Regions from separate parts of the Homo sapiens genome. Here region 1 is linked to region 2. The links are contacts of gene promoters, found by promoter capture Hi-C in human tissues and cell types (Jung and others, 2019). All regions are on one chromosome and are shown on one strand. Each heading gives the region's core, a stretch centred on a gene start or on the middle of the fragment in contact. The rest is flanking DNA. Distances are from core to core; before and after follow the strand shown.

Region 1 (3,482 bases), core at 130-2,629, 110 kb after region 2:
TGGATCTGAAAACCTATTCCTTTTGTCTATCTGAAACTTTGCATCCTTCAACCAACAACTTCCCATCCTTTTCTCCCCCCATGAAAGCTCTAAAAATTCTCCATCCCTGCCCTGTCCCATCCCCCTGCTCACAGGCCATTAAAAGGTCCACTGGAAATAGGCAGAGGCAGGAGATGGCGCAGAGGCAGCGCTGAGCCCTGTCCACACAGAAGGTCCCGCCCGCACATGCCCAGGCCTCCCGCAGCTCCCAGGTCCTCACAATGTGACTTGTGTAGTTTTACAATCAAACACACCCTTTTACACGAGGCCGTCCCGAGTGGGTTCTTGCACTAGGACGCTTCTCACCAGGATGCCTTATGTACACCATTTACTTATTACTACGGATATTTTATTTCAAAGGGGCCACCAAGAGACAGTGTCACTGAGAAATGGCTCGAATGCCCACCTAAGCTTGCTGGGATCAAGGAAGCATCAGGAAGGCCTGGGCAGCAGAACGGCTTATGAGACTCAGACACCACCCGTGAGCTGTGTGACGAGGCACACGACACGTCCCCACAAATGAAAACCACTGCCTGACACAGAAATCATACTCAGTAAGTGTTTAATGAAGAAGAGACAGATGGAAAGAGATGGGCGAGGAAGGCTGATGTTACAAATATAAACTTTGTCAGCACTTTCAAAACAATAGCAAATACACTTAAATACATACAAAGTTTATTAAAAATAGGTTGCAACTGAAATACAGTAGAAATGGAAAACTACAGCAGTTTTGATGTTTTCTCATAGTAATGCAGTTCTGAAAAGCACTTTTACACATATTCACATTTGACCTCACTGCCCAAAGATGGCCAAATCCACTTGTGTATGGGTTTCACAACCACACATACAAATATCCCTGTATGTAGATATTTACATGTATCTGCATGTTCTCCTGTGTATTTTTCTATATATTAACAGAAAAGTAATTCATCTGCATCTCTTTAAAGAAAGTGTGGATTTAGTCACCATAAGGCTGCCAGTGTCCTCAAGATATTTGGGAGGTGCCTGCTTTTCCTAGAACTTCTGCTGCAAGCAAGCAAATCCTTCCTAAACACTCAGAACCATTCACTCTCTTACTCAAACAAGGAAATGGTAAGAGCACACTTTCAAATAAAAACCCTGATAGAGGTAAAAAAAAATATTTACACTCGCATTTTTAATGATTTATCATACAACTTTTATTAAAAGTGATTTCGAAGGCAGTAAAAAGCCCCTATACCTCTCTTTGAAAGTGTGCCTATTTTCCTAACATATGTAAGAGAACATTCTCTTTGAAAATGTGTCTATTTTCCTAACATACGTATGTGTAAGAGAACATTCTCTTTGAAAGTGTGCCTATTTTCCTAACATACGTATGTGTAAGAGAACAATATGGTACAGAAAAATCATTTGGACTCCACCAAGGGCTTTGTCAAATAGAAAATTTGCTTGTAATCACAAAGTAATTTATCATCTTAACACCAGACAATATAAAACACACTGAGGTCCGTCTCCCCAACATCAGCCACATATCCATAGCTGAAGAAATGACAGTGGTAACTAATAATTCAACAAATTAAAATTAAATAACTCTATTATAGTATAAAAATAGCTTGAACTTCCATATGAGTTATTCTTACAATATTTAAGTTACAGATGCCCTGTAACTGAATTCCTTCCTTGACGGCATACAGATGAAAATCGATTTCTTTTTCAAATTTAAAATTTCTGAGTGACAGCTGTGCTTGAGGGGTCCCTACTCATCTCCCATTCTTCTGTCATTCCCAGTCACATGAACATTGCTCCAATAAAGATATCTTCTTTTACAGACGCCTTGGAGCGAAGTATTAGTGAACTTTCCAAGGTAACTGTCATCTTTAAATTTAACAGTGATTTATTAAGTCTAACAATAATCTGGTATTTATAAAAATAAAATCCCCTAAGCTTAAATCCTCAAAATTTTCTTTCAGAATTAAAATTAATCAAATATTTAGAATTGATCAGAAGAGCTCAAATTTGCGAGGAATGAGATGGAACAGTCTCGGACGTGCGTCATCACACAGGAAGCTTTGGCCTAAGCCACTTCACGATGCAGACTAGAAGGATATTGTGGGAACAGACACCATCAGGGGACATGGGAGGAGCATGTCGTCATATGTTCCTTCCCGGGTAGAAGAGCGTGTGGTCACTACTAAACAGTGCCAACAATAGTCTGAATAGTTCAAGCTATTCTCTGCTTGACAGCTAAAATAAAGTTTCTGAAAAAAACAGAAACAGAACTTCTTTGTGCTCCTCGGTCGATGATGAGGGGAAGATGGGAGAGAAGACACATCCATTCTCTTCTCCTGCCCTTAGTTCTGTCCCCTTTGAACTCAGGACTCCAAAAAAGAAACCAACAAAAAACTTACCCTCGTGTGAGTTAGATAATTAAGAAACTAGACAGTGTTTAAATTACATAAATGGCAATCTCATGGTAAAGTAAAATAAAATTTCTTGGAATTGAAACATTTCTAAATCCCAACAATTTTAGAAACAGAAATTGTAAATCACTTAGAAATATAACCCCCTTCCTCTTTTCCTCTTCAAACTCGCACCTACAAACCCACAACTGAAAAGATTTTGGGGTAAATACAAAGTGTTCTCCTCATTTTCTTTCACTTTGTGTTCAGTTCATTCTCCAGTTCTGTTAATTTACGAGAAGCTTTCACTTTATTGGATACATCTTGACCTTGTGAAAAAAGACGCTGGCGTTCCTTGAATGTCAAGTTTTCAGGGGCCCCAGAACTTCCAGGTGAATCTGCATCTTGGCTGCAGAAGAGGGCAATATCAAAGATTACTGGACAAACTAGAAACAACCTGTCAACAATTACACACGTTTGCAAAATGGGCGATTAAAATTTTCACTCATTCTTTGTTAAATTGTGCTATAACCTTTCTTATAATCGAAATCACAGGGGCTGTATTTAAACCCATCTAGAAAAAAAGGGCAACATGTTCTCTTGGCTACAACATTAACTTTTCCCAGTCATAGTCAACTCTCAAAAAACTTGTAAGTTAGATTTTAGCAAGCAGGTGACTCTTACCAGTTAAGTGTAACCTGAGGGGTACAGTTTTAAAATACAGCATTTTAAGGCATCTTACATGTACCTGAGAGGCATCTATAAATATGCCAAATTTAATAATAAGTTATAGAATAGTACTGATGATTTTTCTGGTGAGTTCAAATTCCATGTTTTAAGAACACTTGGGGCAATAGCATTCCTAATTACAATCCAGGTGAGGTCACAGAGTGAAGCCATGAAGTCTGTTTACATAATCTCAAGGTGTCGTGAAGAGTGAAAGGGCTCATCAGGTACAGATGAAGTTCCTCGTCTAGTGCAACCGTCCATACCTTTTAGAGCGCTTCTCTTTTGCATCCCGACAGGCGTCATGGGCTCCAACAGCTGCTCCAGTAGATCCTGGGT
Region 2 (3,796 bases), core at 148-2,647:
AGAGGTGCAGCTGCTGCCGCCCTTCCTGATACGCCGGCACTGTGACTCCAGGCAGCGGCTGAGGGCACCCGGCACAGGGACGAGCTGCTCAGGCGCCAGTGGCACAGGGCCATGAGGATCCAGCCTCTGCTCTCTGGGGCTGTTTTTTTTTGTGGTTTTTTTGCCATTTTTAAAACTTTTTGTGCTCTCAGCTAAAGGGATCCCCACATCTTCCATAGTGAACAGCTCTACGTTTGCTGTGGAGAGAAAAGAGACCGCCACTGCTGTCTTGGGCACACATGTGTGGCCTCGAGGGTCTGGGAAGGGTCTGGATCTGAGCGGAGGGAGGGAGGGAGGGAGCCAGTGTCAGTCCAGGGTCCGGGGGAGGTGAGGCCTAAGCCTCCTAAATCTTCTCAACCCACCGGGCCGGGCCTTAGGGCGGCTGGAGTGCGAATTTCCTAAACCCACCGGGCCAGGCCTTAAGGCGGCTGGAGTGCGAATTTCCTAAGATGAACAACGGCCCGTCCGGAGGTCCAGACCCCTTACTAGAGGAAGGTCCCAGAGCATCCCAGACTCCATGGCAGGAAACTGATGGAGCTCACGGCTGAGGACAGAATTCCACAGCCCAGGCCCGTGGGAACTGCCTCTCCTGACCTGCAGCGCCCAAAGGTCTGGGTGGTCCCAGGGCCAGGCAGGATCCTGGGGTCCCTTCCCCACCTAACACTGTGCCAAAGAGCTCGAAGGCGTTGCTCATCTCTGCTGAGCGGCCTCAGGGGTTCCAGGCCCTGCGGGAGATGTCCCCACCCCTCGTGCTGATGCACCCGGCTGCTGTCCACGCAAGCCAGGACCCCCTTCCTGGCCTTCCAGCTGCTGCAGGCAGGAAGGGATTTGCTGGCCCTGGACAAGGAAGGAAGTGTCCTCAGTTTCCAGCCCCTAAAGGGAGCCAGGGTCCCTCCTGGCAGAACCTGTCCAGGAACGGCAGCTGTGCTGCTTCCTGAGGTCGATAACAGATGCCACAGGAGGTGTGTGGGGCAGGGTGCCCACCCAGGCTGCCTTCCTCCCGCCCTCCTCGTCCTGCCCTGCTGCTGCTCCATCTTCCCCAGCAGCCCTGGCTCTGGCATCTGTGCCCATGGGGTTTGCATAGCCCTCTCCACATTATAGAAGAAGGAGCAGGCACCCTGAGGAGATAGGGGTTGTCAGGTGGAGGAGTTGGGTCCTGTCTCCCCCAGCCTGGTTCTCACGGGGCCCACACCGAGGCTGGCTGCTGAGCTACCCTGCATGGGAGTGCTGCATGGCGGGTGCCCAGCCTGAGGTTGTTTATTTGCATTCCTGGCGCCCTCCACACACCCAGCTATTTGCAGCTCTGACCCTTGTCCTGGCTTGGCCATGCTGGATTCCCAGCCCAGGCTTCCCTCTCAATTCCCTTCCCAGTGAGAAGCTCGGCAAGGGCGGGTCCCGGAAAGCACAGCTGTGATCTGGGAGGTGCTGAGCACCCACCTGCGACCCATGGCGGGGGAGGGCCGAGTAACGACAGCATGGCGGTGCCCCCGAGAGGGAGGGGCATAGACCCCGCCCGGACAAACCCTGACACGTTCCCTCCTTCAGGGGCGCGATGTATGGAACCCAGTCCTGAGAGGCCTGCATGCAGTCAGCAGGAGCCGACCCTGGGAATGGACGCGATGGCCTCGGAACACAGGGATGTCCTCGTGCTGCTGCCCAGCCGGGAGCAACTGCGGCTGGCCGTGGGGGTGAGCAGGGCCCTGGGTGGCCGTGGGGGTAAACAGAGCTGTGGGGGTGAGCAGGGCTCCGGGTGGCCGTGGGGGTGAGCAGGGCCCTGGGTGGCCGTGGGGGTGAGCAGGGCCCTGGATGGCCTTGGGAGTAAACAGAGCCATGGGGGTGAGGAGGGCCCTGGGTGGCCATAGGGGTGAGCAGGGCTGTGGGGGTGAGCAGAGCCATGGGGGTGAGCAGGGCCCTGGGTGGCCGTGGGGGTGAGCAAGGCTGTGGGGGTGAGCAGGGCCGTGAGGGTGAGCAGAGCCGTGGGGGTGAGCAGGGCTGTGAGGGTGAGCAGAGCCGTGGGGGTGAGCAGGGCCGTGGGGGTGAGCAGGGGTATGGGGTGAGCAGAGCCTCAGGACACAGCCTGTGTATGGAAAGTCCCTGGACCGCCTCACTCTGCTTAGGCCAGGTGTCTGTGAGGTGTCAAGGGCCAGCCCTTTCACTGGGCCTGTGAAGGAAACATCCCTGATAGACGTTGCTGTGAGAAATAAGTTTATGGTTCAGCACATCCTTCCCGGGAGGGAGCGCTGAGGGAAGAGCGCCAGGAAGCCGGTTTCCAAGGAGCAGCTCCTGTCTTGTGTTCAGACGTCACCATCTCTATGCTTCTCTATTTCCTTTTCTTTTCCCTTTCCCCCATTTTGTCTACCTGTTTTAGTTGAGTTCATGGCGACAGGAGTTGAGATGGTACTTTCATTTTAATGATTAATGTGGATAATGAAAATGTGGCAATTAAAATGAGAGTGGTTTGTTGAAGAACGATGACTTTCTGCATAGCTAATGTATCATTGCTACCTGGAATGGAGTATGACTTGCTAGTAATATCCTGGTTCAAGTCCCCTGGGAATCTGGGAGTCTCTTGTCTGCTTCGGGATAGAGTTCTGTGTTTACGTAAACGCCCACATCTATGTTTGTGGCAAAATCTTCCCCAAGACTCTGTGTCCCCACCCAGCAACGAGAAGCTGGAGTTGAGCTAATGGGGGATGTCCTGTAGTTTCCTGGGGTCCCCAGCAGTGCCTCGGGCTGGGGGAGGGGTCATAAGAGGACCTGTTGTGGGGAAGATGCTGGGGCTTTGGCCCCCTACCCCATAAGAGCTGGAACTTTTAGGTTTCTTGCACGGAACTTCACGGTAAGATTTTAACTGAGGGATCATGCAGCTAGAACATAGTGAACCGCCTGTTCTGAACAGGTGAATCGTGCTCATCTGCTTTTGACGGAGCTCCCTGAAGTGCCTCTGCAACTCCTGTGGCCCCTGCTGGGCCTGGCAAGTTGGCAACCACAGAGCCACTTCCTATCGGGGTGTGCGCACATCTGTGTCTGCAGTTGGACAGGAACCCCTCACTGGGTTGTGCAGTCATCTATGTCTGCAGTTAGACAGGAACCCCCCCACAGGGTGTGTGCACATCTGTGTCTGCAGTTGGACAGGAACCCCTCACTGGGTTGTGCAGTCATCTATGTCTGCAGTTAGACAGGAACCCCCCCACAGGGTGTGTGCACATCTGTGTCTGCAGTTGGACAGGAACCCCTCATTGGGGTTTGCAGTCGTCTATGTCTGCAGTTAGACAAGAACCCCCCCCCATCGGAGTGTGTGCACATCTGTGTCTGCAGTTGGACAGAAACCCCCTATTGAGGTGTGCACACATCTGTGTCTGCAGTAGGAGAGGAACCCTCTATCAGATGTGCATGCATCTGTGTCTGCAGTAGGAGAGGAACCCTCTGTTGGTGTGTGCACACATCTCTGTCTGCAGTAGGACAGCAACCCTCTGTTGGGGTGTGCATGCATCTGAGTCTGCAGTAGGAGAGGAACCCTCTGTTGGGGTGTGCATGCATCTGTGTCTGCAGTTGGACAGGAACCCTCTGTTGGGGTGTGCACGCATCCGTATCTACAGTTGGACAGGAACCCTCTATTGGGGTGTATACTCGTGTGTATCTGTAGTTAGACAGGGAACGCTCTATTGGAGTGTGTGCACACCTGTGTCTGCAGTTAGACAGGAACCCTGTATTCAACCAAATATGTGTCAAGCCCAGTTATTCGAAAGGGATGGGC

The links. The method cuts DNA at HindIII sites, captures the fragments that hold promoters and counts their contacts. A contact is called where the count stands out against the background at its distance.
Region 1: a fragment that was not itself captured here is called in contact with the fragment with the promoter of FRMD1 in region 2 in 3 of the 25 tissues and cell types used here (mesenchymal stem cells, small bowel and thymus).

The regions. Positions count from the first base shown.
Region 1 is chr6:167,969,126-167,972,607 of GRCh38, reverse strand. AFDN (afadin, adherens junction formation factor) reads right to left here. Exons shown (of 34, transcript NM_001386888.1): 33 at 3,410-3,482; 34 at 585-2,826. The coding sequence ends at 2,673. Among named protein-coding and RNA genes, the nearest start is that of HGC6.3, 8.9 kb to the left of the region's middle. The HindIII fragment of the contact is 5,402 bases long and covers 1-3,482 here.
Region 2 is chr6:168,076,813-168,080,608 of GRCh38, reverse strand. It overlaps FRMD1 (FERM domain containing 1), which reads left to right and starts at 1,397. Exons shown (of 11, transcript NM_024919.6): 1 at 1,397-1,727. The coding sequence starts at 1,515. RefSeq lists an enhancer at 1,685-2,406. The HindIII fragment of the contact is 22,554 bases long and covers 1-3,796 here.